Regions from separate parts of the Homo sapiens genome. Here regions 2, 3, 4 and 5 are each linked to region 1. Evidence: promoter capture Hi-C in 16 types of primary human blood cells and fetal thymus (Javierre and others, 2016). All regions are on one chromosome and are shown on one strand. The core of a region is centred on a gene start or on the middle of the fragment in contact, and the rest is flanking DNA. Distances in the headings are between cores, read along the strand shown.

What was found. Contacts are between HindIII fragments. The CHiCAGO score rates a contact against its expected background, and 5 or more counts as called.
Region 2: the fragment with the promoter of PPM1A here is called in contact with the fragment with the promoter of KLHL28 in region 1 in 1 of 17 cell types (activated CD4 T cells); the score reaches 6.2 in activated CD4 T cells.
Region 3: a contact is called between a fragment that was not itself captured here and the fragment with the promoter of KLHL28 in region 1, in 1 of 17 cell types (naive B cells). The highest score is 6.1, in naive B cells.
Region 4: a fragment that was not itself captured here is called in contact with the fragment with the promoter of KLHL28 in region 1 in 1 of 17 cell types (total CD4 T cells); the score reaches 6.0 in total CD4 T cells.
Region 5: the fragment with the promoter of SPTSSA here is called in contact with the fragment with the promoter of KLHL28 in region 1 in 2 of 17 cell types (total B cells and naive B cells); the score reaches 7.7 in total B cells.

The regions. Positions count from the first base shown.
Region 1 is chr14:44,959,901-44,963,993 of GRCh38, reverse strand. It overlaps KLHL28 (kelch like family member 28), which reads left to right and starts at 2,047. Exons shown (of 5, transcript NM_017658.5): 1 at 2,047-2,148. It overlaps TOGARAM1 (TOG array regulator of axonemal microtubules 1), which reads right to left and starts at 1,804. Exons shown (of 20, transcript NM_001308120.2): 1 at 1-1,804. The coding sequence starts at 1,572. RefSeq lists enhancers at 1,347-1,861, 1,511-2,320, 1,862-2,376, 2,891-2,980. The HindIII fragment of the contact is 5,188 bases long and covers 1,172-4,093 here.
Region 2 is chr14:60,247,333-60,251,425 of GRCh38, reverse strand. PPM1A (protein phosphatase, Mg2+/Mn2+ dependent 1A) reads right to left here and starts at 2,205. Exons shown (of 6, transcript NM_021003.5): 1 at 1,749-2,205. RefSeq lists silencers at 1,222-1,961, 2,162-2,261 and enhancers at 2,362-2,711, 2,772-2,821, 2,131-2,859, 3,402-3,651. The HindIII fragment of the contact is 6,782 bases long and covers 1-4,093 here.
Region 3 is chr14:58,410,196-58,414,288 of GRCh38, reverse strand. It overlaps TIMM9 (translocase of inner mitochondrial membrane 9), which reads left to right. Exons shown (of 6, transcript NM_012460.4): 4 at 2,318-2,382; 5 at 3,351-3,446. The coding sequence starts at 2,344. It also overlaps a transcript of TOMM20L not described here. Among named protein-coding and RNA genes, the nearest start is that of TIMM9, 15 kb to the left of the region's middle. The HindIII fragment of the contact is 3,775 bases long and covers 39-3,813 here.
Region 4 is chr14:56,575,591-56,579,683 of GRCh38, reverse strand. It overlaps a transcript of TMEM260 not described here. Among named protein-coding and RNA genes, the nearest start is that of TMEM260, 2.2 kb to the left of the region's middle. The HindIII fragment of the contact is 280 bases long and covers 2,115-2,394 here.
Region 5 is chr14:34,459,840-34,463,932 of GRCh38, reverse strand. It overlaps SPTSSA (serine palmitoyltransferase small subunit A), which reads left to right and starts at 1,693. Exons shown (of 2, transcript NM_138288.4): 1 at 1,693-1,837. The coding sequence starts at 1,726. RefSeq lists silencers at 1,171-1,680, 1,801-1,970 and enhancers at 880-1,830, 2,371-2,480. The HindIII fragment of the contact is 5,560 bases long and covers 1-3,941 here.

The sequences.
Region 1 (4,093 bases), core at 798-3,297:
GCGTTTGCTATCTACAAGAGCTGGGGCAAGATCAAAGGACAGTTTGGGCAAGTCAAAATCCTCACTAGGATAGGTCAGCAGGGAGCAGATGCAAATGTTCACCACCTCCTCTCTCACTCTGGAATGCTTATGTTTGAGATGTTCCAGGAGTAAACAAAGCACCTGCTGAGGTCCTACTTCCTTCATTAGCTTGAGGAAGATTTTCATGTATTCTTGTTTGATCACCAACTTGTTGTCCGCCAGCACTTTGACAGAAGCTGCTATAACTGGTCCCAAGAACTGCTGTACCTGCTCTCCAAGGCGAATAACCAGTAAATGCAGGACTTCAAGTGTGCCATGCACCACTTTGAAGTTAGAATCGTCTAACAAATTATATAGCAAACTAATGAAGCCAACAAGACTAGAATGAGGAGTAGAACTAGGGTTAAATTTTCCCAGCACCTGCTTTAGTTCTTCGACGGCCTGGGTCCGGTTCTTATAGTCTTCCTGATCCAATAATCGTGAATGCAGCTCCTGAGGAATAATCCCAAATTTAAGATTGCTGTTGGAAAGAGTCACTGCACAGGGAAGGGGATCTTCAGGAAATCCAGAGGCTTCAAGTTCCAAATAATAAGGAACCTGACTTCCAAACTGGGACTCCAGGCGGCGATTGTAGTGTCTCCTCAGGGCAGAGGGCAGACGAGAAATGTAAGATTGAAACCTGTCTTGGCCAAGTCGCTCCCCAATTTGTTGAAGTGCGGAGAAAGCTGTCTCAGATTCTTCTTCTGTCTCCTGATCACCAAGCTTTCGGGCTAGGGATATTATCACCTCGGTGAGATCCAGACCAAGCAACAAGTCCTCAGTAGTAAGCAAGATGGGAAGCAGTAGTGCTGTGGAAGCTCTAAGTCGGGCATCGGTACTTTCCAGTCCTTGTTGTATAAGCGTTCTCAGCACCTCTCCAGGACTACGTTTCAGACATATATGAAGGATCTGCAGCGCATCTTTCCGCAGGGCTGGATTCTCTTCCCGTAACGAGACAACTAGTTGAGGCAAAAGTGCTAAGCTAAAGGCCTCTTCAAGCTGGCCTGCCTCCCCCTGACCCCGGAGAACGTCCGAGAGAAGTTGCAAGCAGAGCCGCTTCTCATCACTACCTCCTTCCACAAGCACTCGGCCCAGTGCCCGATACAAAGCTTCCTTGCGTCGGGGGAAGCCAAGTCGACCGCCCCGCCGCGGCAAAGCAGCTTGCAAAGCCTGGAAGGCCTCAGAAGGATCCCGGGCAGTGCGGAGGAGTTGAAGGAGCCGAGTGTCCTCTTCATCTCCCCCTGACAAACCGCCTCCAGACTCAGACCAGCTGCTTGAGACTGCCTCCGAGGGCATCAAGAGGGCCGAGGCCAGAGGCGAAGTTGTAGTGGGGCAGGAACCGTGGTCCCCCGCAGCTCCACGGAAGTAGTAGTTTTTCTCTCCTCTCATAATGCCCCCAACTCGACTATCATCGGTCTCTGGGGCGGAAGGACGACTGCGGCTCTGGAGCCGATAGGTAGAGAGGACTGGAAAGGGCGGCAGCAGAAGCAGCGCGGAGGGGGCAGCCGCCATGCAGGGTTGTCAGGTGGTGGTGGTTGGAAGAAACCATTGCCGTCTCCAAAGGGCTCGATGGAGCCCAGACTTCCAGATCCTCTCCAAGCCCCAAGCTGCAGAAGAGGCAAAAGAACAGCTTCAGCCTGCCGCCAGGCCGCCCCCAACTCCGGGAGGCAGCCTCTGGCAAAATGGCCCCCGTCTGAGCCCTAGACCCCACAGCTGCCACCGGGCGTAACCAAGGGCACCACGTGACCAAACCGATTGCTTCCATGGTGATGTACCCAGCGCGGACCTCTTGACCCGGAAATCCACTTGCCGTGATGAATGCTGGGTTATGTAGTCCACGTCAGGTGTTGAGACTAGGCCAAAGTCTCCTGGAAGAGGAAGTCAGAACGTTGTAAACGCAGCTACAGCGGAGAAGGGAGGAGGGGTGAAGCCATTTGACGGATGTGACGCTTTCCTTGCTCTGGGCGGAAGTTGCCCGCCCCACCCGTAAGAGTTAGGGTTTGACCGGAGCTAGTGAGGATCCAGCCCAGGCTCCAGTTGTCCGCGGTTCCTCCTCCTGTCGCTGCCCGTGTGATTACTGAGACTCAGGTATTTTCCTTTTGCTGTCCTCCAGCGGTGCAGGCTTTGGCAGTGTTTTGCCCGAATGCCACTGGTGCTAGAGTAAGAGGCAAAGGACTGAGCGGAGCAGGTGGAAAGAGAGGCGACATCTTCTTGTGCAGGGCTCGTCACCCTTGTAAACGCGTTACTCTCTACCACCCTGAGTAACTGCGATCCTTTCCTCTTGCCATCTGCTTATCAGGACAGAAGATCTGGACCACGGCCAAGCTCACAAATCGGGTATTTTTTTTCAATTCCTGGTCTTTGGGGCCTTTATTCGCCTCCCCCTTCTCCTTTTGTCGACTTCTCTTAACCCTCCGGCCGCAGAGGGTTAATTTTTTTTTGTTTTTGTTTGTTTGTTTTTGGCAACGTTTCCTTACCCTCATCACTTTGCGTTTTCTTTACAACGTACATAATATGGAAATAGGTCTGTTTTTTTCCCCCTGTAGCTAACCGCCTCTCCCTTAGACGTTATCAAAATCTTTCCTTCTAATGCAGTTCCTCTGTGGGACTCTCCCCTAACCTCCGCCCCCTCCGTCTGCCGCCCTAGCCTCCCTGCAGGATCCTCAAGCGTCTCTGCAGCCTTTCAGTCTCCTAGAGACAGAGATTGCGAAGACAATTTCACTTGCGGTGGAAGTTCTTGGCATCATGGTTCTAAGAGAATTCTGCCTTGTGGATTTAGGAATGATAGTAGACATTTATTTATTTTAGGCGAACTGAGAATTTTGTGTGCATTTTCTCCTCATAAGTGATACTTAAACGGACACAGTGGAAGAGCTGGAGTGTCTAGTGTGAGCCTGAATGCTTTGGAGTGTGGAAGAGATATTTTTTTTTTTTGAAGGAATAATACTATTACTTTTGAATGACTCGTGCGAAAAGTCTAAGTTATCATTTGAAGACCCAAATTTATGCACTTCAAATGCAAGTATTCCTACCCTGCTCTGTACCAGGTGGGATTTCTCTTAAATACTTTTTAAAGTCTTGGAATAAATGAGTCACATATGCCAAACAGCTTTATAAATAATGCTCCCAGCTGATGCAAGTGCAAAAATAATTTCTGGATTTTTGCCTTAAAGTACGATTTGAATATCAGTTTTGTTTTGTTTTGTTTTTGGGGGGGTGGGGGTGGGGAATAGACTATAATGTAAATGAGGCTGTGTAAATATACATCCTATGTTTTGGTTTAAATTCTAGGCTGTTACTTTGGTTTTAATGAGCCATTTTCGTGTTTAAATGAATCTGCCTAAATTAGGTTTAGCTAGCATGTTTCATTTTAGGGACAGGTTAAAGACAGGGAGGTGAAAAACAAGAAATGATTGTAGCAGTTGTCAATGAGAAAGTGTCTGGTTCTCACAGTTCCAACCTAAGAAGCTCAAATGTGTAGACTTCTAGTCATGTATTGCCCAGACTTGAGGAACCCAGTTCAAACTAACCTAGACAATGATGTACACATTACAGTGCCAGTTTATGTTGGATCAGAATTTTCAAGTTGAAAATCCAGTGCACTCTTTCTTGTATCCAAGAACTTGGGAAGCCAAGTTAATAACTAGAGGTTGTGTGGTAATCATGGAATCACAGAAAAGGAACTTCGAAAGTCTTAAATGAGAGACGTGGATACTTAAGCAGTTATCATGCCCTTTTCCTGGGAACAAAGCAAGATGAGTCTTCCTTTTGATTCTTGTTTTTTTAGATCCCTGTGGATCACTATACATTACAGATTGCAATTTATTTTTTATCTGTTACATTTTGTCTCTTTGATTGAAGACTTAGAAGAGGCATTAGTCTCCATAGTGGATATTTAGGAAATGGGACTTCATCAGCATCACGTCTTACTGATTATCTTTTAGAGTTATTTTGTGGAACATAAATCTCATTCATTGAGTGTGTATTCTTTTTATTACGAAGCAGATTTTTTTTAATCTTTGGAAATCTAGGA
Region 2 (4,093 bases), core at 956-3,455, about 15 Mb before region 1:
GCCCCTCATGTAAAAAGATACAATATGTACACAAAATACATAAAAAGATACAAGCCAAATAAAAAGCAATTTGATGACTATTATTTCTCAAATATAATTGAGGTAGTTAACTTCAAACATTATCAGTCTTAATACACCTTTCCCATAATATAATTACTTCACCGATCTAAAAATGTTTTATGATATCAAATTAAAATGTCTTAGGCAACTGCCATGTGCAGGAAGTTCATTATAGTTTCAATAATGTGGTACTGCTGTAAACTTCCAGGTTAAAAGTAATCATCCTTACATGACTGAAAGTTTAATCAGATACATATAAGTTACACATAACAAGAACAAAACTATAACACTAGGAAATGTTACTTTGTGCTTCAAATTATTTATTGGTAAAGAAAGCATTAAGTCAGTAAAAGCAGCATCTAAGAATAGAGAATCTCCTTATTTTCAATTTTCTCATTTGTAAAATAAGGAGTTACAGAAATACAATCTTTGGAAAAGGCCCAATATGTAGCAAGATAAAAGTATAAAAGTAAAGTGTTTCAAAGAGAGTTGGGGACCAAGCTATGCTAAATTCCCAAGTGCTCTGGAACCCTAAGTCTCAGCAGAGTAGTGTTTCAACAAATCCCTCCACTTTTCGGAGCGCAACACATGTAAAGTGGTTGTGTTTAAAACCCCAACGTGCAAGTTTGAAAAGACTGTTTTACAAAACAATTGTTAAAATGTCTAATTTCTCTCAATAATGTCAAAATCATTTCCTTTGAGAAAATGATACCTATCTCTCATACTCTTCCAACCACTTCTTAAAACACATTCAGCTCATTATTCCAATGAGCAGGAAACTTGCGGGGAGGTGGGGCTAGCACACAGATCCCATGGCTTGGACAACTGAAGCATGACTTTTGTGGATTTGTACCATGTGGTGTTTCAGGAGAGAAGAAAAATACCTCAGGTGATGAAATTTTCAAAACGTATCTAAAACTGCAGTTGGTAGAAGGCTCTCCACAGCCAGCTGTCTTTCAAGAAAAGGCTCCAAGTTTATTTAAAATCTACAAGCAGAACAGAACCATACCTCAACCAAGCTCTAACATCAAGAAGTTTTACCCGATTTACGTAGTTAAAAGGATAAGAAATCGGAATTTACTTCAATGGATTTGTTCGATGCCTTAATAATGAATGAACTAGAGGCATCACTCACTGACTTGAGTTCTGAAGGAGTCTCTCAGCCCTGCCCCCTGTAAAACCTTAAGCAATTTCTACAGAATTAGGTTTTTCGAGGCTAAGCCCGGTTCAAAGGAAGTCTCCCCGCCTCCCTCCCAGGGGCTGAAGCCCAGGACAGCCGGGGCGGCGCGCCCGAGCGGGTGGGGGCGCGGGGACGCCCCCTCCCCGCTCGGGAAAAGTTCTGCAGGCCGCTCTCCGGCCAGGCCGGCCTGCGGCCGTCGCCTGCTTCGCCGCCACAAACACCCATCTCGGCCGCGGACGGCCAGAGGGTCGCGCCCCCTCCCCGCGCCACCGCAACTAACACCCCGCCCCCGCCTCCCCGCCACCGCCCTCGCCGAGCGTTAACCCCTCGCCGTCCGCCGCCCGGCTCGGGGGAGGAGGCCGGCCAGGGGGTGGAGTTGTCGCGTCTCCTCCCGGGAGCGCCCGGGCAGACGCCCGGCTTGTTTACAGGCCCCAGGCCTGCCCGCCGCCGCCGCCGCGCAGGCCCGCACCGCCCGCCAGCCCGCCGTCGGCCCGAGCGCCGCACTTACCCGGAGCAGCCGCAGGCGGGCAGGTCCCTGGTCGGCCGAGGCGGCGGCGGCGGCAGCCGGGGAGGGGGTCACCGCGGCGGCGACGGCGGCAGCCGGGGGAGGGGTCACCGCTGCAGCGGCGGGCCAGGTCAGGCTGGGGAAGGGGCGGAGGAGGGGAGGAGCCGGGCTGCGTCCGGGCCCCCGGCTGTCGGCGCCCTCGCGGCTCAGATCATCCGGGCGTTGGAGAGGGAGGCAGAGAGCGGGTCCCGGAGAAGGAGGAGGAAGAGCCGAGGACTCATCGCTTTCGCGCCTCAGCTGTCTAGAGTCCCCCCACCCCCCCCTCCCCAACCACCCGTTCCGGAGCAACAGCCGCCTGAGGACCCGAAGCTGCGGGCCGGACGAGCGCCGAGACCACTGCTCTCTAGCTCCCGCGCGCGCTCCCGTCCCTAGCGCCGCCACCGCCGCCGCCGCCGCCTCTAGCGCGGCCCCGCGCAGGCGCGCTCACGACCGCGTCGCCCCTCCCCCACCCCTCCGCTCGCCCCGCCCCGCTGGCTCCGCCGCCGCTACAGCTGCGGCGCGGCGCGCAGCTACAGAGACCCGGATGTCGTTGGGCAGGAACTGCGGTGAGGGCTGGCGGGCGGGGGAGGGGCCGCCACAGATGACGTCACTGCCTTACCCAGCTTCTTTCTCTGCCGCTGCTGCTGCCGCCGCCTTTGCCTTACGGCCTGGAGCACCAGGCCGAAGCCGAAGGGAGCGTCCGGATCCCGGATAGCAGCCAGGACCCGGGCCTTCACGTTCCGGCGCCAGGGACTGGACAGAATGTGCGGCTATTAGGTGCCCAGTAGATCGACAGCCCCTCCGTGCCGGCCCTTGGCCAAGTAGGGACTCGGAAGCTACCCCTACGGCGTCCGCGCCCGGAGCCCTGGCTCTTCTACCTGCCTGCAGATACAAACCCCACTCCCTGCGAAGATGGTGTACACGCAGCCCCGAGCACAGACCCGAAGCTGTCCACCCTTCTTGGGCGCCGTCGCGGTCTGGCCGCTGCCCTTCGAACCCATGGTGGGTCCCAGGCAGCTGCCAGACCCCCCTACCCCAGAGTCCCACTCCTCCAGAGCCTTCCTCTCCCAGTGACCCCAGGAAGCCCAAGCAGGTGCCACGGCCACACACCTCGCGACCCAAAGGGCAGAGACACAAGCACGCTACCACCGCCCACCAATGTGCGAGTGCAACTGATTCACGCACGGGGCACATGCTCTGAGTTTCTGGCAGGTTTTCCCTCTATAGTTCAGGGGATTCCACATTGTATTTATTTGCACATGTTAGATAATCACGTGGTTCTGTCCCAGGGGACCTCCAACGACCTCCAATGAGGTAGGTTAAGGGAACAGGATTTTTCAAAATCAGGAGAATAATCAGAAACATAACAGCTGCTTCTATTAAGAGGTAGAGATGAGCTAAAGTTAATAGAAACTGCACGTGCCAGCGGCCAAAATCCAGTTTAGCTAGCTGGAAAACCCGACCCACGCTGCTTGCAGACGCCGGGGATAGAATGACAAACCCTAGGCAGCCAATGAATCGCAGCCTAGGAGCAGTACATCACCAGCACGGGTTCCCATTGGCTGGGGTGCCCTTCCCTCTCTTGTCAGCGGCTTAACCAGTTCACGAATTTGACCTACACCACATTCGCAGGAAAAGAAGTTAGAAGAAAAGTCCGTATTTTTAAAAGATGTTCTGATGCACACACAAACCAAAGACTTCATTGTAGAAGGCAGGTTCTTTTACTGGCCAAATTGAGTTCTGGCCAGTAAAAAAGGTAAATTTATGTTGAAGGCCTCTCTATTTTACTTGAGGAGCTCACTATAGCAATTTGCACCCTACTACTTTCTATCTCCTAAACCATTTTGTTGCCCCAACTCTTAGATCAAAAGCAACCTATTTATTCTTTCTGGCATTCAGCAAATATTTAGCTGCTGCTTTTAAAGTTGTAAAAAGCCATCTCTAATTTTCTCAACATGACTTTGGGGAAGGTTCTGTTTCCTTCACTTTTTTTTTTTTTTTTTTTTTTTTTTTTGAGACAGAGTCTCGCTCTTTCATCCAGGCTAGTACAGTGGCACAATCTCGGCTCACTGCAAGCTCCGCCTCCCGGGTTCATGCCATTCTCCTGCCTCAGCCTCCCGAGTAGCTGGGACTACAGGCGCCTGCCACCACGCCTGGCTAATTTTTTTGTATTTTTAGTTCAGACAGGGTTTCACCGTGTTGGCCAGGATGGTCTCGGTTTCCTGACCTCGTGATCCACCCTCCTCGGCCTCCCAAAGTGCTGGGATTACAGTCGTGAGCCACTGTTCCCGGCCAGAATTCCTTAGAAG
Region 3 (4,093 bases), core at 677-3,176, about 13 Mb before region 1:
TTTCAACGAACTTCATAAAAATTAGTTTCAACAAAGCTTCATAAAGAATTTATGTTTTCCAGAGATACTTTAATAATTGATAAGCTAATAAAAATTTGCACATCCAGTTTATCATTTTTGTTTTGGTTATCAGAAAACTCTTAACTAAATAAAATGTATAGCATTTATGTTAGTCTACAGTGTACATGATTCATGTTTTCCTTTTACATGCTGTTTAATTTCTGTTTCAAACAGCTTTATTTTATACAAACCTTTTTTTTTTTTTTTTTTTTTTTTTTTTCTGAGACGGAATCTCACTCTGTCACCCAGGCCGGAGTGCAGTGGTGCAATCTCGGCTCACTGCAAGCTCCACCTCCCGGGTTCACGCCATTCTTCTGCCTCAGCCTCCCAAGTAGCTAGGACTCCAGGCGCCCACCACCACGCCCAGCTAATTTTTTGTATTTTTAGTAAAGACGGGGTTTCACTGTGTTAGCCAGGATGGTCTCGATCTCCTGACCTCGTAATCTGCCCGCCTCAGCCTCCCAAAGTGCTGGGATTACAGGCGTGAGCCACCACGCCCAGCCTATACAAATACAAATCTTTTATATGAAATGCTCAACCTTTTTAGAACTAGCCAGGATATAGTAAATAAATAATGTTATACACATTCTTATATCTAGATTAACTGAACCTAAGTCCTACATTTAGGATATGTGAAAATCTCAGGAATTCAGAAAGGCTTTTTTATTTACTTGTCTTCCCTTCCCTGTTGCCGCCACGTTAGATTATAATTAGAAGTCTCTGATTAGTCTCTGTGATTGCCCTTTTTGAACTAGAGAATGTGTAGTAGAATGTATAATTCCTGTAACTTTCTTTTAAAACTCTGAATATCCTTCATGAGGGTTGTCAATTTCTAAGCAAATGGTGTTTGTTAACTGGTGTTTGTTAACTATTAATAGAACCTTTGTATTTACATTGTAAAAGGATCATTAGTAGTAAGGGTCAGAGTTAAATTAGCAACTAATTTTAAGTGTATTTGGAGTGGCTCAGATATATGAATCTACTTTTTCAACAATAGATTTTATTAAATCTAAATATAGGCCAAGTATTTCTGATGAAAATTTAGCATTCAAATTGAGATGTGGTGTAAGTGTAAAATGCTCACCAAAATCAAAGACTTACTACCAGAAAAGGAACGTAAAATGTCTTATTAATACTTTTTATGTGATTGTATGTTGAAATGTTAAAATCTTTGATATTTTTGATGTATTCGACTGAGTATAATAGTAAAAAATTTAAAATAAGCAATTTGGTGACTAGTGGAATAGTTAAGTAATTTTAGGAAAACAGCAAAAATCTCTTGATTTCCTTTATTTTTCTTTTTATTATCATTATTATTATTATTATTTGAGATGGAGTCTCACTTTGTCACCCAGGCTGGAGTGCAGTGGTGTGATCTTGGCTCACTGTAACCTCAACGTCCTGAGTTCAAGCGATTCTCCTGCCTCAGCTTCCCAAGTAGCTGGGACCACAGGCACATGACACCACGTCTGGCCAATTTTTGTATTTTTTGTAGAGATAGGGTTTCACTATGTTGGCCAGGCTGGTTTTGAACTCCTGACCTCAAGTGATCCACATGTCTTGGCCTCCCAAAGTGCTGGGATTACAGGCATGAGCCACCACACCCAGCTTTTTTTAATTATTTTTTTAAGCCCAAACTTCACCATCTTGGTTTCCTTTATAACCCTCCTAGGAATGGGGCTTTAAACAAGCAGCTTAGCAAGGTAGCAGAGCAAACTATCTTAAAACTGGAGATTTTGATAGACAGGGCCTTTGAGTCCCAAACTAGCATTAGAAAATCTAATTCTCTGGCCGGGCACGGCGGCTAACGCCTGTAATCCCAGCACTTTGGGAAGCCGAGGCAGGCGGATCATGAGGTTAAGAGATCGAGACCATCCTTGCCAACATGGTGAAACCCCATCTCTACTAAAAATACAAAAATTAGCTGGGCATGGTGGTGTGTGCCTGTAGTCCTAGCTACTCAGGAGGCTGAGGCAGGAGAATTGCTTGAACCCGGAGGCAGAGGTTGCAGTGAGCCAAGATGGCGCCACTGCGCTCCAGCCTGGTGACAGAGTGAGACTCCGTCTCAAAAAAAAAAAGAAAATCTAATTCTCAACTGTAAGGTTCTATGGTCATTAATGATCTGAGAAATTGGGGGTGGTGGCATACAATTACATACACAGATTTATAAAATACGAGCAGTGATTCCCTAACTCTTCAGTTAGACTAAAAACATTTGTTTATAGATTGACAAACTTGTTTTGAATTTTTAAATTAGGTGACTAATAAAGGTACCAGAAGAATATGGCTGCACAAATACCAGAATCTGATCAGATAAAACAGGTAAGGTATTCTAATTAAGGGGAAAAGATTTTGCAAAAAAATGTAAGGTGCTACTAATGCCACCATGTCAGGCTGGGTGCAGTGGCTCACATCTGTAATCCCAGCACGTTGGGAGGCCCAGGTGGGTGGATCACATGAAGTCAGGAGTTCAAGACCAGCCTGGCCAACATGGTGAAACTCCGTCTCCTAAAAATACAAAAATTAGCTGGGCGTGCTGGCGCACACCTCTAGTCCCAGCTACGTGGGAGGCTGAGGCACAGGAATTGCTTGACCCAGGAAGCAGAGGCTGCAGTGAGCCGAGATCGTGGCATTGCACTCCAGCCTGGGTGACAGAGCAAGACTCCATCTCAAAAAAAAAAACCATGTCAGTGGTTTCACAAAACAATTGTTTCTATTTCATTTCCAAAATGGATATTAAATGTTATAAAGTGTACGTATTTTTCTTGTTCTTTTTTTTTTTGGACACAGTCTCTCTTTGTCGGCCAGGCTGGAGTGCAGTGGCACGATCTTGGTTCACTGCAACCTCCATCTCCCGGGCCCAAGCAATTCTCCTGCCTCAGCCTCCTGAGTAGCTGGGATTACAGGCATGCGCCACCACGCCTGGCTAATTTTTGTATTTTTATTAGAGACAGGGTTTCACCATGTTGGCCAGGCTGGTCTCGAACTCCTGACCTCAGGTAATCCGCCCACCTCGGCCTCCCAAAGTGCTGGGATTACAGGCATGAGCTACCGCACCCGGCCAAGCATATGTATTTTTAATCTGACTGATAATCAAGGAAAAATTAAATATTCAACTAGAAAATAAAACTATTCTGTAGATCATACTGTACCCATTTAAGTTAGCATAATAACTATGATTTCAAGTGTTATAGTATATTTTGTCTAAATATAAAATACCAGTAATTTAAGTTTCAAAGCATCTTTGTTTTAAAAACCAAATACTAAAGAACATTCTGGTTTGTTTGTAGTTTAAGGAATTTCTGGGGACCTACAATAAACTTACAGAGACCTGCTTTTTGGACTGTGTTAAAGACTTCACAACAAGAGAAGTAAAACCTGAAGAGGTATGAAAAGTGTTACTCACTAAAATTCTACAAGCCTTCATAAACACTCTAAGTAGGATCCCCTTAAGCATTTCACTTGTTCCTACTTATTACAGGAATTTAGACTACCTTTTATGTTCCATTGCTTGGAAGAACTGAAGCAGCCACTGAACCACGGCATTGAGTTTAACAGTGCCAAATTTAATGACAGTTACATTGTACCAAGTCAGACCATTTTAGAGAAGATGCCTGCAGCTGCTGAGTTACTGTTTCACAACAAAGATTCTTACTAATTAGCTTTCAGCCAAGATGGCCTACCTAGAGAAACTTGGCACAGCCTTTCTGTATGGCCCTGGGAATTCTGGTTGGCTTTGGAAAAAACAAAGCTTGACTTTGGTGGCTCATATTGAAAACCTCATCCTATTAGAAGTCTTAACTATTTTTTTAAGACAGGGTCTCGCTCTGTTACCCAGGCTGGAGTGCAATGGCATAATCATAGCTCACTGTAACTTTGAACTCCCAGCACATTGGGAGGTCAAGGCAGGTGGATCACTTGAGCCCAGGAGTTCGAAACCAGCCTCGGCAACATGGTGAAACCCTGTCTTTACAAAAAATACAAAAAAAAATTAGCTAGACATGTTGGTACATGCCTGTGGTCCCAGCTACTC
Region 4 (4,093 bases), core at 1,005-3,504, about 12 Mb before region 1:
GTTCACCTACTTATAATGTGATTTAAGGTTCCTAATCACCAGGAGAGCATTCCCTTTAAAAAGCAAGCCCGGCCACAGGCCTACCTTCTCCATGGCTATTCCCCCCTTTTATACTGACTTGGTTGGGTCTGACAGAGACCAAAGCAGCGTCGAAAACCGCGAGCGAGGAAGGGCTGCTCCTGCCCCCTACGGTGCGGGGTGGAACTGCACAAAAGGGCCACGATCAGCCAGGAGCCCCTACCTGTGCTAAAAAAAAAAAAAGGGTGGTGTATTTACCGTATGTGCAAAGTAAGCCAATAAATACATTAATCACAATTATGTATTTATTACGATTTACTACGTTACTATGACTAATTACAATAAGTCTGTGTGCTACTTATTAAATCACTGAGTAATTTTTAGAGAGATTAGAATATGCTAGTGCGTCTTTTTTTTTTTTTTTCATTCCATAGCATAATGAAAACTCTGTAGATGAGTCGGGAAATTTGAGTTCCTGTATTCATGCAGATAACTCAAACCATGATAAAGGTGTCTCCTAGTTTAATGAAGAGGAGTGTTTTGCTGGAGCTTTCAACACAGCAAAGTGGAAAATGAAATTGAATCACCATATTTTACAATGAGCTGTAACGCAAAAAAAAAGAATCGGAGCCGTTAATAAGGACAACTACATAACAGCGCAGTTAAGCTTTTTAAGCTTATGTTTTATTATTAAAGCAATTATCCTGGAGTGGGCGGGGAGGAGAGCAACCCGCATAAAATGTATCTCAAAGACACACTGAAAACCAGTGACAATCTCAAACGTGTTACGCGCAATTTGATAGAGACACAGTGACTAAACTATAGAGTAACATATACCTACCTTGACGGTCATGGGGCCAGCACACCTTAGTCTTTTCCAGGTACTTATACAATTTCCAGCCTTTTCCAGGTAATTTCTCAGCTGTACTGTGAGTTCCTGGAGGAGAGGGGCTGTGTGGTAGAGTGCTTCTAAAATGGATTCCCAGATAACCCTGCCTCCTCACTCACTTCCTGTATAAGCTGCTCGCCTTATGTGTGAGCTTAACCTAAGGATTGGCTTCTATCAATACAATAAGGCAAAAGTGATGGATGTCACTTTCAAGATTAGGTTATGAAAGACTAACTTTCATCTTGCTGGCACTCCCTCTTGTCCTCTCACTTGTTCTCTCTGATGAAGCCACCTACCATGGTGTAGGCTGCCCTGTGGAAAGGTCCACATGGGAAGAAACTGAGAGCCGCCTCTAGCCAACAGCTGGCAAGAAACTGAGACCTTCAGTCCAACAACCTTAGAGGAACTGAATCTAGGCAACACCATGTGAGGGAGCTAGGAAGTGGATCCTTCCCCCACATAAGCCTTGAGATAACTATAACTCCTGTCAAGACTTGGATTGCAGCCTGTGGATGACCCTGAAGCAGAGGACCTAACTAAGCCTCATCCAGACTGCTGTCCTATAGAAACCGCGAGATAATAAATGTTGTTTTAAGTTGATAAATGCAGGCTAATTTGTTAGTTATCAGCAATAGATAGTTAAGATAGGCTGTCTTCTATTTCTTTGCTGAAAGAACATGCCAATGAGTAACCTTGACTGGGTCAAGCATATACTTCTTTCCCTTTTTATGCATTTCACTTTTGCTCATGAGTTTTATTTAAAATTTTTTTATTTTGGAGGGGAATAATTCTTTGTCCATGTTTGGGAGGTAGAGATCAGTGCTGGAAGTACAAATTTAGGAGTTGCTCGTGTAAGGATGATATAAATGACTAACTTGATAAGGGGATAGTGTAGAGAGAACAAGGTTGAGGTCTAATGTCAGCCCATATTCTCATTTAGGGAATGGCTGGAGAAGGGGAGAGAACAGTGTAAGAGAATGAGGCATCACCAGAAGCTAAAGAAGAAAAGTCGATGAAGTACATGTGGTCAGGATGTTACAGAGAGGTAAAGGACAATGAAGAGAGGCACGTCTAGATTTTGTGAAGCTCAAGTGTATAAAACTTGGAGAATTATATGTAAGTAAACTGATATAAAACTGCAGATACAGAATTAGGCACAAGATATTGGAAGACACCTGGGCTAGAGAGGAACTGTGAGGCCTAAGCTTCATTAGCTTCATGGTTGTTTTCCTTTGAAGATTAAGAACTTCCAGTTCTCTGTTTATGTCTGACTCTACCTCTCAGTAAGCATCTGACTATTCCTTCCTCCCCGGAAGTATTTTCTTTTCTGGCCTTCATTGATAGCACACTCTTTGGTTTTCCTTTTATCAATGGCCTCCCTGCCCTGGCTCTGCTTCTGTCGGTCCCCCAAATGCTGAAGTATTCCTGGGCTGTTCTAGACTTTTCTCTCTTTCTGTCTTCTTTCCCGAGATGATCATATTGAAGCTTTAAAGGGCAACTATGGGGCAATATTTCTCAAAATTAGACCTCCTCTGCTTCTCTTTTTTAGCGACCGATTATTTTAAAAAACCCAACTGCCCCCGACCTCTCCATTTCTATGTCTAAATAGCCTGTCAAACCTGATGGACTTTGTCTAATTTCCACCATATTTAAAATGATGCCTGGCACAAAATTGGTGCTAAACAAATATTTATGTAATAAATGAATACATGAACAATCAGAGATCACTGGCATATCCGTTAGGGATTGCATTTAGCTACTAGTGACAGATCCTGCTACAGTGTCTTAAACATTAAAACAATCATTCTCTTATATAAAAGAAGTCAGAAGTCTATAGGAAGTCAGTCTACCACTGGCTTGGCAACTCCCTGATTCCACTAGGGACACAGCTGAAGTCCTCATATCTTTCTGCACCATCCCACTCAGCTCACATTCTCAAGGTCATCTACTGATCCAAGGTGGCTGCTAATGCTCCAGACATTACATCTGTTCTTGAGGAAGAAAAAGAAAGGATGGGAAGAGAAAGGCCTGCTCCAGCTTTTTTAAAAAAGCACTATTTTTTTAAATGCTATTCCACAATTTTGCTATATCTAATTGGCCAAAATTGAATAACAGGTCACTCCTAGGGGCAAAGGATGCTGCGAAATAGACTTTTCAGCTGGACAGTTTGCCTAGAATTCTATTACAAAGGAAGAAGGGGAGAATGGATACTGAGGGGCAACTAGCAGGCTCTGCATGGTTGGATTTGGTGACCTGGAGGTATTTGAACCTTGAAAGTTCAAGAGGTCAGCTTCAGTAGAGTAGTATCTACAGAAACAAGGTACTAGTGGGCTAAGAAGTGAGCAAATGGAAGACATGAAAATAAAATACATTTGCAAAAAGTTTGGCAGTGAAGGGAAAGAGAGAAATAGCATGAAAATTCACAGGGATCGAAGTGTCAAATGAAGATTTTTGAATGTCTTGTTTTGTTTGTAACTCAAGGGAGTATTTGGAGAGACATAGTGATGAAGTAAAGATGTACAGGTTATTGGAGAGGATGGGACTGAGGAGGACAGAAGAGAAGGGTTGAAGATAGAAAATGTTAGAGATAAAGAGAGAGACCTCATGATGTCTCTCTTTACACATGATGTGTAAACATGTGATCGTTGGACTTGATCCTGAGACAGACCAATAAGACATATAACGAGTATTGATTTATTGTTTGTGCTCTACATCATTCTATGATGGCTTAGAGTTAGCCACTATAATACAAACCATAAAGCAGAAAAATATGTAAATAATTTGGGATTCATCCAGAGAAACAGAACTAGTAGGAGATATGTATGATACAATTTATTGCAAGGAATTGTATAATGTAATTTTGAGGGCTGGCTAAGTAACTCTGAAGCCCGTAGCACATGCCATCAGGAAGGGAAGACTGGAACTCCTGGGCATGGCAGAAAGCTGTTGTCCACAGCTGGAAGTTTTTCTTCATCAGGGGACCCATATCCCTGCTCTTAAGGCCTTTCCACTGATTGAATCAGGCCTACCAGATTAACTATGATAATCTCACGGTTTTGAAGACAAATGAGGCTGGGCATGGTGGCTCATGGCTGTAAACTCAGCACTTTGGGAGGCTAAGGTGGGAGAATCACTTGAGGCCAGGAGTTCGAGACCAGCCTGGCCAACATGGCAAAACCCCATCAA
Region 5 (4,093 bases), core at 444-2,943, about 10 Mb after region 1:
TCAACACTCAGTTCAAGCACCATTTCTCAGAAGACTTTCACAAGCCCAATCTGATTTTGTCTGGGCTATCTTGGTATCCTAAAGGATACGATCCACAAAAATATCATTTACCACACCTCACTGTAATCCATTAACTTGCCTCTCTTCCCCAGCAGACTGGGTACTTTATGAAGGCAGGTCTCAGTCTATCTGGCTTGCTATCCCAATGTCTGGCACTTGATATTACTTACTGTTTTCTTTCTTTTCTTCTCTTCTCTTCTGTTTTCTCCTCTCTTTCTCTGTCTCCTTTCTTTCCTTTCTTTTGCTCTGCCACCTAAGATGGAGTGCAGTGGCACCATCCTGGCTCACTGCAACCTCGACCTCCCGTGCTCGAGCAATCCTCCCGCCTCAACCTCCTGAGTAGCTGGGACTACAGGTGCACGCCACCACCCCTGGCTAACTTTTTGTTATGTATTTACTTATTTTTTTTGGTAGAGACGGGGTTTCACCATGTTGCTCAGGCTGGTCTCGACCTTCTGGACTCAAGTGATCCGCCAGCCTCAGCCTCCCAAAGTGCTTGGATTACAGGCATGAGCTACGGCGCTTGGCCGGCACTTGGTACTTTTAATGAATAGTTATTAACCATGAAACTTTTAAAGTTTAAGCAGTAGTATGTTTAACCTGGAAGACTTTTAACATTTAAACAGCAGGCCATTTAATTGTGGCAGTTCACATGCTACACCAGTGCATGGAGCTCCTTGTGGCCAGTGCAATGTTGCTGGCCCATCTGGCAGTGGGAAAATCTGGGCATCCAGGAGTGCATCTCTAGGGAAGTATCACCAGCCCTCACACCAATCTCAAGCTGCCTGTCTTCTGCAGAACCCACTAGATCAGCGCGCTTCTGGCCTTGACCCACTTGGTGGTTACCTACAGCCACTAAGAGGTGGGCAGATAGATGTTTTTGGTAAGTGGTCTCTGGGTTAGGGAGTGCATGGGTTATGTCCGTCTAGGGGTGTGTGTGTGTGTGTGTGTGTGTGTGTGTGTGTGTGTGTGTGTGTGCATGGGTGGGGGAAGGGAGGAAGGAGGCCGAATGTGCATCCCTTCTACAAGGACGCCTTTCCAGACCTCCTTATTAGGTGGCGTTCGCCTCCTCACCCTCTCTCAGCCCCTTATCTCCTCTTACACGGATCACGACTTGATTAATGCTTGTCTCCCAGCTAGGCCGCCAGCTGCACAAGGTAAGGAACCGAAGGCATTCCGGTTCTCCCTGGCAATCCTCCTTCTCAGAAGGATGCCTGAGGCATAACAAGTGTTCCAGAAATATTTCTTCCGCAAGCGCTCTGGGCCAGTCTGGACGGACCGAGCGCCCGCTGGGCTGCGGGGGCCCCGGGACCCCGGCCGGCACTGACGCCCCGCCCACCACCGGCCGGCCCGGGCGGGGTGGGGCGCGGCTGGGCGCTCTCGCGGGGACCGTTCTCCGGCTAGCGTGGGCGATGCCCGGGCGGGGAAACGGGAGGGGACGACGCGACGCGAGGTAGCGGCCTGGCCAATGAGCGCGGGTCGGGCGGGGCTGGGGGCCGGCGGCCGGGGCGCGCGCGGGTCTGGGCGTGCCGCGGGTGACGGCGGGGCCGGGCGGGCCAATGGGCGCTGGGTGGCGGGCGGGCGGGCCTGGCGGCCGGGGGCTTTAGGACGTGAGCGGGCGGCCGGCCGGACAGACTGACGTGTGAGCTGCATCGCGGGAGGCGCATGGCGGGGATGGCGCTGGCGCGGGCCTGGAAGCAGATGTCCTGGTTCTACTACCAGTACCTGCTGGTCACGGCGCTCTACATGCTGGAGCCCTGGGAGCGGACGGTGTTCAGTATCCTGTCCCGGCCGCGCGCGCGGGGGCCGGGCTGGGGGCGCGGGCCGCGGGGCCGCATTTCCCCAGGCCCCGGGCCTGGGGTGGAGGCTGGAGCGGCGGCCCCGCCGGTCCTGTGCGCGGAAGCCGGGGGTGCAGGGGGAGGTCTGGGGGCCGAGGGCGGCGCTCGCGGGGTTAAGTGGGGGGTGGGGGAGACGAGAACTCTTGAGATCCGGGGTCACCTGTGAGTCGCTGGACCCAAGGGGGAAGCGTCTTGATTCCTGGAGGAAATCTCCGAAGGTGATGTGTAACCCTGTGTGTCGCCTGCACTTCGGCCGCAACTGCCTTTGGTTCAGTCCCCTGTTCCTGTAGGAGGCGGGGATCATGTAACAGTGGAGCACATCGCTCCCGGCTTGGACGCCTTTGACCTTTAAGTGTTCCTGATTTAGTTGGCTTTGGGTCTACCAAGAATTCTAGTCAGTTAACTAGCTTTTAAGCCAGGTTCTGAATTTGTAGGCATGACACTCCAGTAGTTTTTGAAAGCAGTTTAAGTTATTGTATCTTTTTGGTCTTCAAGTTGGGGAGTTTTAAAAGTGTATTTATTGCTTCTGTGCACCGTCCGTAGAAGTCGGCCCGAAAAGTGGTGCAATTTGTGGTTAGTTGTCGGTAGGGTTTGAAACTGTGTTTTGGTGGATAGTTAATAAATTCTTGTTAATGACTATTGAGTGGTTACTATAAGCAAAGCATTTGTGCAAAGCACGTTGTCTGTATCTTAACTCATCTAACTTTGAGAACTTCAGTTAATAACTCAGGGTTGTGAAGATAGGCTCCCTGAAAGTCTGATGTTTCTTGTCTCTGCTTGTCCATATTGACATCCTTTGATGATATTCTTGCAGATTAAATACTGATAATGAATGAGATGTAACTTTTAAAAAACTCAGGCCAATACAAAACAGGTATTTCACAAAACATGTTTAGTTTATCCACGTTCTCTCCTTTTCAGTGTGGTTTAGTTGGAGTAGCTTACTTCAGAATAACTTTGCGAATGCATTGTTGCATTCCAGTGAGTGACTGAGGTAATTTCATTCTAAGCCTTATCAAGTGTGTTTATTTGTTTTGAGATAGCTTAAGGTTGTACTCAAAGCTGAGTCTTTTGTTTAAGCACTTTTGAGGAATTTGAGATGCTTTCAAAGCAGTTTATTTATTTATTACTGTTGGCATTTCTTTCCAAACCTGGAATTTAAGAACCAGAATGCATATTTTGGATTTAGACTCTGAATATAGTTTGCTTTGATTTCCTGCACCATTTATTTGTAGCTGCAGTTTAGTCTCACTCTTTAGGGCTCGCAAGGTCATGCCTTGTAAAATATATACTTGAATGCATATTTAATAGAAGTCTCTCAGTAGAAGCAAGTATATCTTGACTGACATAACACATCCTAAAATTAATTTAAACAATGCTGGGTTAAAATGAAACTCTTTAAATCAGAGGTTGAATGTAGAGTGCACTATTAGAATCTAGTATAGATTTGACACCTAAAATCTAATATAGATTTTACACACTAAAATGCTACAGTTATCAATGATGTTAAGATTTTTCTGTTATGTTGCAATAGTGATAGTGTCCTATAAATAACTAGGTGATGCCTTTTTTGGGGGATGGAGAAATAAATTATGAAATGAAATATAGTGCCTTAGTAGATATTTGCCTTTAATGTTTTTGAGTTACCATGGTTTAGCGACAAGTAGTTTCAATTTTTTTTTCAAATAGGTGAGAACTGCAACCAACTGACATCCAATATTATAGAACCTTATGATTTTAAACTTAAGATAAAAAAATCTTATTTCAAATTTCACGTTATTGAATTAACTCAGGTTAGAAATGCAATTGTTTGACATAAGCCAGTCTTGAATTACTATCAGCTGTTGTATTTATATTTTTCCACTTCAACTTCTAGAATCATTTAAAACTATCTGATAGTTTGGAACATCAATTTGAGATTGAATCCTCATTTTAGCTTGGTGGAAAGAACTGAATGAGAAAACTGGATTTTTTTCCCTACTTGTCAGGAGGCTTACTCTGAAGTAGTTTGAATTTCATAAATCCATTAATGATTAGTAAGCTTCACCCAGAACTAATCTGTGGCCAGCTACAGGCTTTTGGAAAGAGGCATACTTTCTACAGCTTAAACATTACATTCAACTTAATCATCAATCCTAGAAACCTAAAATTTAGAGAAATTTGCCTCTGCCTGTCTGAAAATTTGTCTCTGAGTT